Linked DNA regions of Homo sapiens: regions 1 and 2 are each linked to region 3. Evidence: promoter capture Hi-C in human tissues and cell types (Jung and others, 2019). All regions are on one chromosome and are shown on one strand. The core of a region is centred on a gene start or on the middle of the fragment in contact, and the rest is flanking DNA. Distances in the headings are between cores, read along the strand shown. Region 1 overlaps VPS35L (VPS35 endosomal protein sorting factor like). Region 2 overlaps CCP110 (centriolar coiled-coil protein 110). Region 3 holds the start of THUMPD1 (THUMP domain 1 NAT10 acetyltransferase adaptor).

Region 1 (3,656 bases), core at 80-2,579, 1.2 Mb after region 3:
GGAAAGGATAGTTGGAAAAGACCACTTTTTCAACTATCAGAATGTCAAAGAGTTAAAATGCTGGCTGATGTCAGGCTGGCAAGGATGCAGGGAAACAGACCCTCTTCAACATCACTGGTGGAAATGCAGACTGGTTAACTCTTTTTGGAGGACAATTTGGTGATAGCCATCAAAACCTTAAATACACATTGCCTTATGCCAGCAAAGAGATGGAGTCTCGCTCTGTTGCCCAGGCTGGAGTGCAGTGACGTGATCTCTACTCACTGCAATCTCCGCATCCCAGGTTCAAGTGATTCTCCTGTCTCAGCCTCCCGAGTAGCTGGGATTACAGGTGCCCGCCACCACACCTGGCTAATTTTTGTATTTTTAGTAGAGATGGTGTTTCACCACGTTGGTCCGGCTGGTCTCGAATTCCTGACCTCATGATCCGCCCGCCTCAGCCTTCCAAAGTGCTGGGATTACAGGCGTGACCCACTGCGCCTGGCCAACCAGCAAAGAACTTCTAGGAAGCTATCCTGCAGAAATCCTTGCAGACATGCACCAAGATGTGTGTGTGTTCGAGACACATGCTGCACTGCTGTTTGTACCAGCAAAACCCAGAAACTATCTGGGATATCCTCCATCTGATGGATACATCAGTAGAGGAATGGTAAATTAAAATAGGTAAATCCAGTCTTTAGAATACCATACGGCTGGTCAAAATAATAAGGTTGTTCTAAATGTACTAACATGGATAGTTCTCCAAGACATATGGTCAAGTTAAAAAAAAAAAAAAAGTTGGCTGGGCGGCATGGCTCAAACTTGTAATCCCAGCACTTTGGGAGGCCAATGTGGGCAGATCACCTGAGGTTAGGAGTTCGAGACCAGCCTGGCCAATGTGACGAAACCTTGTCTCTACAAAAAATACAAAAATTAGCCAGGTGTGGTGGCACATGCCTGTAATCCCAGCTACTAGGTAGGCTGAGGCAGGAGAATCACTTGAACCCAGGAGACAGAGGTCACAGTGAGCCAAGATCGCGCCACTGCACTCCAGCCTGGGCAACAGAATGAGACTCCGTCTCAAAAAAATAAAATAAAATAAAATAAAATAAATTAAAAAAAAAAGTTGTGGGGTGCAGTGGCTCAGGCCTGTAATCCCAGCAACTCTGGTAGGCCAAGGCAGGAGGATTGCTTGTGCCCAGGAGTTTGAGACCAGCTTTGGCAACACAGTGAGACCCCAACTCTACCAAAAAATCCAAAATTAGCTGAGTGCGGTGGCACACACCTGAAGTCCCAGCTGCTCGAGAGGCTGAGGCAGGGGGATTGTTCGAGCCCAGGACTTTAAGGCTGCAGCGAGCTATGATCATGCCACTGCAGTCCAGCCTAGGCAAAAGAGCAAGACTATCTCCAAAAAAACAAGTCACAAAACAGCAGTTCCATTTATGTAACAATGGTAAATAATATATGAAACACAGGCCGGGCACAGTGGCTTACGCCTGTAATTGCAGCACTTTGGGAGGCCGAGGTGGGTGGATCACGAGGTCAGGCGTTCGAGACCAGCCTGGCCAATATAGTGAAACCCCGTCTCTACTAAAATACAAAAATTAGCTGGGCATGGTGGCACGTGCCTGTAGTCCCAGCCACTCGGAAGGCTGAGGCAGGAGAATCGCTTGAACCTGGGAGGTGGAGGCTGCGAGTCGAGATCACCCCACTTCACACCGGCCCGGGTGACAGTGTGAGACTTCATCTCAAAAATATATATATATATATATATATATATATATATATATATATATATATATATATATATGAAACACAGCATAGGATGATGATCGAGAGCATGTATTCTGAAGTCAGACTGGCCAGGTTTGAATCCCAGCTTGGATGTGACTTGTTATCTCTATCCCTCCATGGCTGCCTCTTTAATGAGGATTCCAATACCTCTCACAAGGTAGTAAGAGAACCAAATACAAAACGCACTCCGGAAAAATGCCTGCCATGCAGTAAGTTGATGCTGTAATTATTTATATATGAGTACGTATGGGAATGCTCAGAAACTGCTATCGCAAGTATCTATGAAAATACAGGGGAAAAGCTATGGAAGAAGACACATTACAGCCATCATTCTCACAACCGCCAGGGTGGAGATTGGAATGAGGATTGCTCTACATGACTTTATCTGTAGTGTCTGACTTTTTCACATCAAAATGAGTGATTTACTTATGTATTATGTAAAAAGATTTATAAGAAGAATAAAATTAAAATTAAAAATAAATTTTAAGAGCCAGGTGCAGTGGCTCACGCCTGTAATCCCAGTGCTTTGGGAGGTTGAGGCAGGTGGATCACTTGAGGTCAAGAGTTCAAGACCAGCCTGGTCAACATGATGAAAGCCCATCTCTACCAAAAAACACAAAAATTAGCTGGGCATGGTGGTGCATGCCTGTCCCAGCAATTTGGCAGGCTGAGGTGAGAGAATTGCTTGAACCCGGAGTCGGAGGCTGCAGTGAGATTGCACCACTGCACTCCAGTTTGGGTGACACAGCAAGGCTGTCTGAAAAAAATATTAAATTAAAAAATAAAAATAAATTTTAAAATGCTTTCAAACAAAAAAACAAAAAGACTTCACAGAGCTACACCAGCCTCTCATGTCAGGATGACCTGACCAGAAGGTACCGTGTGCATTACTTGTGCAACTTAAAAAAGGGGAAGAAGCTTTAGGAGGCTCAGGTGGGAGGATCGCTTGAGGCTTGGAGTACAAGACCACCCTGGGCAACACAGCAAGACCCCACCTCTACAACAAAATAAAAAATTAACCCGGCACAGTAGTGTGTACCTATAATCCCAGCTATTCAGGAGGGTGAGGTGGGAGAATTGCTTGAGCCCCGGAGTTGGAGGCTGCAGTGAGCCATGACCACACCACTGCACTCCAGCCTGGGTGACAGAGTGAGACTCTGTCTCTCAGGGGAAAAAAAAGGGCAGGGCACAAGAAAACCACCCATTCCTGCACCCACAAAACCAACCCCCACTGGACGACCATGGCTGGGGTGCATTACCATGGCAGCTGCCAAGGCTGCGGGGTCAGCAGTGGCTGCAAACATGGAGAGGGGGTCAGTCCCATCGAGGACGCTGCTCAGCGGGTCCACCACGGAGCTGGAGGAGGAGGAGGACGTGGAAGAAGTGCTTCCTTTCCGGTTCACTTTCTTTGTCTTTGACTCTGTGACCTGTGAGGAAAATTTCTGGAGGTAAAACGGAACTCCCACAACTCTCTCCAGTGAAACACTCCAGTGGGTACTTTCCTCCCATTCTGGTAGTTGAATGGATGGTTCATTTGCAGCAGAGACTTAACCATCTGCAGGGGATGCTTAGTTTTTGTGACAAATGGACATGACTCAGGATCACAACTGTCAAGGAAGGGAAAGTAGGAAGTTAGGGTTAGGAAGTGTTAAAAAAATTAATTGAGAGGTCACTGGACTGAGATGGCTACAGCACCTGGGGTTCCCTATGTAGCAAACCAAAATCCAACTCAATATAAGTAGCAAAATGGAACTTAAGCTTAATCAGTTGCAAATCGCCAACTACCCACTAACTAGAGACTACCAATCAAAACCAACAACTAACATCTAAGTAGGGAATTTCTACTTTAACCAGGTACTTTTTTTTTGCCTTTCTCCCTTGAA
Region 2 (3,257 bases), core at 282-2,781, 1.2 Mb after region 3:
ACAAAAAGTCTCTGATTTCACTGTTTTCTAAAATAAAATTGAAATTGAAAATTCAGAATTCTGACATTTCAAAACATAAAGAAAAACTAAGATGACAGGTTTCTACGGTATCCTGTATCACAGGGGGCTCAAATTATTATTGAAAAGATGCCTACTGGTCATCCTGCCTAAGTTATTAAAAGAGTTATAAAAGAGTTATAAAAAGAAACATCTAATCTGATACAAATATGAACATATATATGTGTATACACACACACATATATTCATATATCCATGTGCAATTTAATCTTAGAATACAAGCACTTAAATTTCTTCTAGTCATATGTTATTAACATTACCAACTGTTCCTCCTAGGATAGCTATCATCCAAGGATAATAATATATGCAATAAACAGCAAGTAATGAAATGTCTTACGTAAACGATTCCCTCTCTAACAAAGACTAACTTGTCCAGGACATTGATTAAGCAAAAATGATTCAGTAATAAGACTCCTGCACCTACATGCTTACTCCAAAGTTTAACTAAACTTTGTCTCAAAAATGAATGAATGAATGAATGAATGAATGTAAAAATAGATATTTTGTATCTAAATAATCCAACTTTGCAAAAGAATAAAAAGAGAACTAGGATAGTTTCTAAAGGTAATTATACATCCGTATATTAAACTGGCAAAAATCATTGTATTATCATATGAATACAGACATCAAAAGCCTGACTACTGGCGGGGCATGGTGGCTCACGCCTGTAATCCCAGCACTTTGGGAGGCCGAGGCGGGCGGATCATGAGGTCAGGAGATCAAGATCATCCTGGCTAACACAGTGAAACTCCATCTCTACTAAAAATACAAAAAATTAGCTGGGCTTGGTGGTGGGCACCTGTAGTCCCAGCTACTCAGGAGGCTGAAGCAAGAGAATGGCATGAATCTGGGAGGCGGAGCTTGCAGTGAGCCAAGATCACGTCACTGCACTCCGGCCTGGGCGACAGAGCGCGACTCCATCTCAGAAAAAAAAAAAAAAAAAAAAAAAAGTCTGAATATTACAATATTTTTTGGTTGTTTTGAATGTGCTTGTTTTTTTCTAGACCACATGGCTCTCCTATTTTACGTTACAAATCCCAAGACAGGTAATGGTTTCCAGGTACTATGCAATACACAGTACAATAAGACATACTTAGTCACAACCTCAGAACCAAAATAAAACAAAAAAGATGCAAAAAGGTTTCCAGGTACTATGCAATCAACAGTACAAGAGTACAAGACATACTTAGTCACAGCCTCAGGACCAAAATAAAACAAAAAGGATGCATATTTATGAAATCCATGAACATGTTCACAGGTTTAAGTAAAACAGATGATTTCCTTACGTAAAATATTTCACATTTGTGATATTCGGAAGCTATGTTGTTTATACGTCACTAAAATGAGCCTTTAGTTAGACAAGTTAAATAACAACAAGAAAAAAATCTATCATAGAATCTTAGGTTTTACAGGTGAAGCAGAAATCTAATTGTATTATATAAAATTTTCCTATCTGAATAATTAATTCATTACAGTTCAACATTATACATGCTCTTTTAACAATTTTATTAGTAGTATATTTTATCTTCCCTCAATGGACCAAGAATGATATGCCATTTTCATTTCAATCACAGGAAATACGTAGTAAGTAAAAAACCTACCTCTTATTGTTAAATTAGTGCTACTCAATACATTTTTTAAACTTAATATGGACAGTAATTATAATCTGCAAAATGAAATCTACTACCCACACACTATATACTACTGTGAAAGGGAAATAATATCTCAGGACCCCAAACTCAACTATGTCACATGAGAGTCACTATGACTCTCATTAACAATTCTCTTAATACTACCTCTCAGCCTGCGTCTAGATTGTTCTCTTTCTATATATTCCTTTGACTTTTTCATCAGATTCTGAAGACTCATTACATAGGGATTTCGAGTAACTGAAATGGAAAATCACATGTCAAAGGAAAAAGTAAAGCTTAGGAACTGAGTCACACAAAAACTGCCTTCCTTTTATTCCTAAACAGATAGCTGCAAAATAGAAGGCCACCTATCTACCCAGGTAGACTCTCTTGCAAATTGCTCACAAGGAAATTCCTCGTAGGCCCCAAAATCTTTACACCAACCCAGAGTTCTGCTGAATTTCACTCTGACAAGATACGGACAAAGACCAAAGATGACTAGAAATCATCCCTTTGGAGACAAATGTATATTTGACTTCTTCCTCTACTCTGCTTACTTTATCCTATGTAAAATGCAGATTTATTGAGCTTGAGATGAATGCATAACTGACTGTTCCTCTACCCCCACCTTTCTCATGCGACTTGTGGATTCAGTGAGTGCTAATCAAAGCCTCACAAAAATGTGATCGCTTATCTCATTACCTACCCTCCTTTTTTTTTCTTTCCTCTTTCCCCTCCTGCTGTTCTCTCCCCTTTATACACTGAAGTCCTCAAAACCTCTTCTGGAAAAGCATAAGCCACAGATTCTACTGTAACTTTTGTCTCTTTTTCCTTGGCACATCCTCAACCTTGGCAAAACAAACCTCTAAATCGATTGAGACTTGCCTCAGTCATTTTCTTCAGTTTACACTACCAACAGAGAAATGAACCCTTAAGGTTCATTATACACGTGTCATCGATACGAATTAAACAGACAAACCACAAACTCCTAAGATTATGAAAAAACAAAAAGATGTTACCAGCAGAACACTGCTATATGTTGTAGAAATTATTCGTTCAATCTAATTCATTTGTTTTTCTTTTTAGTACAAAATGATCCACATGTCAGAACAAATTGTTTATACAAATCTAAAAATAACTGCACAAGGTGTAGATGTGTTGTTTAAATAGTTTTTAGACATAGGATGCATCTAAACAATTCAATGTTATCTAAACTGCATTTTGTGTATCTAAGAGTTTTCACCAAAAAAAAATTGGAGGCAGTTATTTACTTAAGCAAAGAATGAGAATAAGGTCATTTAGTCAATAGTCTAATTAGTTTGGGGTAAACAATAATACCCAATTCTGTCATTTTGTCACTGAGAATTCAATGTTTTTAGAGTCATAAGATGCAAACAATAAGCAATTATATTCAGTGTATGGTTCTATTGTGTAAATATCCTCTGATTCAAGTACTGGGCATTACTAACAAGCAAGTACATTCTCTTTGGAGTAACTGAAATGGAAAATCACAAATTATGAAGCTTCTCAAACGTAACAGTAAAGTAC
Region 3 (3,263 bases), core at 707-3,206:
ACACTGCTCTTCACAAACAACTGAGGACTTCTAGAAATCTCTGCTGTGCAGTGTCCACCAAAGAAATTCTGAAAATTAAATGCTGTATTGAATACACAGGTAAAAGCAAACAATAAGATGATAAAATTTTTGGACATAGTGGTAGATCTGGGGTTAGAACCTAGGGTTTATTGACTGTGAATTCGGTGTCCCTTTCAAAATATCAGATTACATCTTTTAGGGCTTTGTAGGAACTCAAATCTGCTAAGAGGTTTGTACCTGAAGAGTAGTATGAGAAGCACTTGTTTTTTAAACACATTCTTCAAAAGTGGCATCTTCAATGATTTTTAAAAAGACAGTAACATGATAAGTTGCCAAGACTATGGATAAAAGGCCGCAACGAAAGCAGCATGAAACAACACCAGCCAACATCCTTGGTTTTAAGTGAAATAGAAACATAGCCTGGAAAATTGAGGCTGAAATGGAATTTACTGGAAGCCTTTTGAGTAACTGTTCTATGTGGGAAATGCGCGAGGGGAAAAAACAAGACAAAATACGGCCAGGCGCGGTGGCTCACGCCTGTAATCTCAGCACTTTGGGAGGCCGAGGCGGGTGGATCACGAGGTCAGGAGATTGAGACCATCCTGACTGACACGGTAAAACCCCGTCTCTACTAAAAATAAAAAATATTAGCCGGGCGTGGTGGCGGGCGCCTGTAGTCCCAGCTACTCGGGAGGGAGGCAGGAGAATGGGGTGAACCTGGGAGGCGGAGCTTGCAGTGAGCCCAGATCGCACCACTGCACTCCAGCCTGGGCGACAGAGCGAGACTCCATCTCAAAAAAAAAAAAAAAAAATAGACAAACATACAATACCTTTGGGGGTAAACAACCTTTATCCCACGTAAATGGCAATGCAGATATAATAAGCAAATGATATAGTAAGCAAATTGCAATGGGAAGGGGAGAAGGGAAAAAAAAAAAATATATATATATATATATATATTTACACGCACCAGACTATGTTGGATTCATCACCAGACCGGGAAGCAACAGCCTGGGCTCCAGAGTCAGCCACTTGTCCGTGCACAGAGGAGGAGGGGTCTCAAGAAGCTTCCGTGTGGCCTGGGACCCTGGCTCATTTTTTTTTTTTTTTTGAGACAGAGCCTCGCTTTGTTGCCAGGCTGGAGTGCAATGGCACGATCTCGGCTTACTGCAACCGCCGCTTCCCGAGTTCGAGTGATTCCCCTGCCTCAGCCTCCCGAGTAGTTGGGACTACAGGTGCGCGCCACCACGCCTGGCTAATTTTTTGCATTTTAGTAGAGATGTTGGTCAGGATGGTCTCCATCTCCTGACCTCGTGATCTGCCTGCCTTGGCCTCCCAAAGTGCTGGGATTACAGGCGTGAGCCACCGTGCCCGGCCGACCCTGGCTCTTTTTGTAATGCGTTGATTGGCATGAGGCCCAGTCACGAGGGCCCTTCTCGACTGGGCTCAAGGAACACATAAAGGTCAACTTGTTTCTGTGATTGTCTGTTTTTCAATAACTCAAGTACAGGTACAGAGTTATCTGTAACAGTGCTGGATGAATGAATGCCTCAAGGGGCTCATGCAACCTGTTACGGGACTTGACCATTGTGTCCACGTTCAATTGAGTTCAAATTTAATATTTAACTTTTCCTCCACAGTAGCTGGCAGAATTATAGGGAAGGCTGGAGGAACAGGTACCAAGGTTGGGTGGAAGAAGCTATATGGCTGGAGCCAGCTTCAAGGGCTTGAGGAGCCACCGACACCACTTCCAGAATGGCTGCTATGCTGCCTCTACTGGATTCAGGTTGCAGTCGGGAGGCGGGGCAGGAGGCGGGGCTTGGGCGGGTATCACTCCACCCCTTTCACGATTGCAGACCGGCCTTAGGACCTGGCGCAGCACGGAATGAGGCTTCGAGGCCGGCTAGGGGAGGCCGTCGCTCATATCCGACGTCACCAGTTCGCGCCGGCGATAGACGAGGACGCCAACAGCAGCGGAGAAACGTTTCTCTTTCCTCTCAGTTTGCGCACACCATGGCGGCCCCTGCCCAGCAGACTACTCAGCCTGGCGGCGGGAAGCGCAAAGGCAAGGCTCAGTATGTGCTGGCCAAGCGCGCTCGGCGCTGCGACGCTGGCGGGCCCCGTCAGCTAGAGCCCGGGCTACAGGGCATCCTCATCACCTGCAATATGAACGAGCGCAAGTGCGTGGAGGAGGCCTACAGCCTCCTCAACGAATACGGCGACGACATGTATGGGCCAGAAAAGGTACCGGTCCCGGGGTGGGCGGGCGGGCCGGCTGCCAGGCCTTGCGGGAGGAGGGAAGGGTGGAGGGATGGCTGCTGGTATGGGCATGCGCGCCTCGGGTCGTCGGCGTGACGGCTGTAGGGGCGTGGCCTCGCCGGCGTTTCCGTCCCTAGTCCTGAGACGCTCGCAGACTTCGGTGCTATCGGTTTTGTGCTTGAAGTGCTTGCACCTTTTCTTGCCATCAGTAACCACGGTAGCTCCCATTACTTTTATTTTTATTTTTGTGAGACAGGGTCTCGCTCTGTTGCCGAGGCTGGAGTGCAGTGGCGTGATGATAGCTCAGGGAAGCCTCGACTTCTCCTGTCTCAGCCTCCAGAGTAGCTGGGACTATGAGTGCGCGCCACCACTCTCGGCTAAGTTTTGTAAATTGTAGATAAGGGGTCTCACTGTTTGGCCCAGGGTAGTCCTAAACCCTACACTCAAGCGATCCTCCCGTCTCTGCCTCTCAAGGTGCTGAGATTACAGGCGCGAGCCACTGAGCCCGGCCTACCTCCCACTTAAGGATTGCTCATTGAGGGCCAGGCGGTGTGCTGAAGCTCTTTCAGAAACACATTTTTCATGACAGCCTCGTGAAGTTGGAGTAATAATGTGTTTACCTGAAGCAATAATATTTCTGAAATAATAGGTTTACTACTAATGCTAGTTACTGCACTTAAAATACATTTTAGAACGTAAAAACTTTTACCAATATCACCTAAAGTCTTAGTGTTTGGAAATCATATTACTGGCTTAGAATCTGGACCAATACACACACGCACACTGAGGGATTAAATGAAGAAGGGTAATACAGAGGGAATTTAAATTCACGGCTCATCCTCTACTAGCTTGGGGACTCGGACATGGGCACATTATTTGATGCTGCTGAGCTAGATAAAAAAGAGAATACTTTAAGACTGGCTAGTGAGTTGCTTATGTACATAAAATACATACTGGTATGTAATAAAGTTTCTGTAAATGTA

Evidence for each region. The method cuts DNA at HindIII sites, captures the fragments that hold promoters and counts their contacts. A contact is called where the count stands out against the background at its distance.
Region 1: a contact is called between a fragment that was not itself captured here and the fragment with the promoter of THUMPD1 in region 3, in 1 of the 25 tissues and cell types used here (dorsolateral prefrontal cortex).
Region 2: a fragment that was not itself captured here is called in contact with the fragment with the promoter of THUMPD1 in region 3 in 1 of the 25 tissues and cell types used here (dorsolateral prefrontal cortex).

What each region holds. Positions count from the first base shown.
Region 1 is chr16:19,568,968-19,572,623 of GRCh38, reverse strand. VPS35L (VPS35 endosomal protein sorting factor like) reads right to left here. Exons shown (of 31, transcript NM_020314.7): 3 at 3,033-3,200. Among named protein-coding and RNA genes, the nearest start is that of VPS35L, 15 kb to the right of the region's middle. The HindIII fragment of the contact is 3,565 bases long and covers 1-3,111 here.
Region 2 is chr16:19,532,644-19,535,900 of GRCh38, reverse strand. The region is part of intron 3 of CCP110 (centriolar coiled-coil protein 110); the gene reads right to left. Among named protein-coding and RNA genes, the nearest start is that of CCP110, 10 kb to the right of the region's middle. The HindIII fragment of the contact is 3,569 bases long and covers 1-3,257 here.
Region 3 is chr16:20,740,511-20,743,773 of GRCh38, reverse strand. THUMPD1 (THUMP domain 1 NAT10 acetyltransferase adaptor) reads left to right here and starts at 1,956. Exons shown (of 4, transcript NM_017736.5): 1 at 1,956-2,265. The coding sequence starts at 2,035. It also overlaps a transcript of ACSM3 not described here. RefSeq lists enhancers at 1,881-2,150, 2,161-2,210, 2,511-2,650, 2,681-2,770. The HindIII fragment of the contact is 7,218 bases long and covers 419-3,263 here.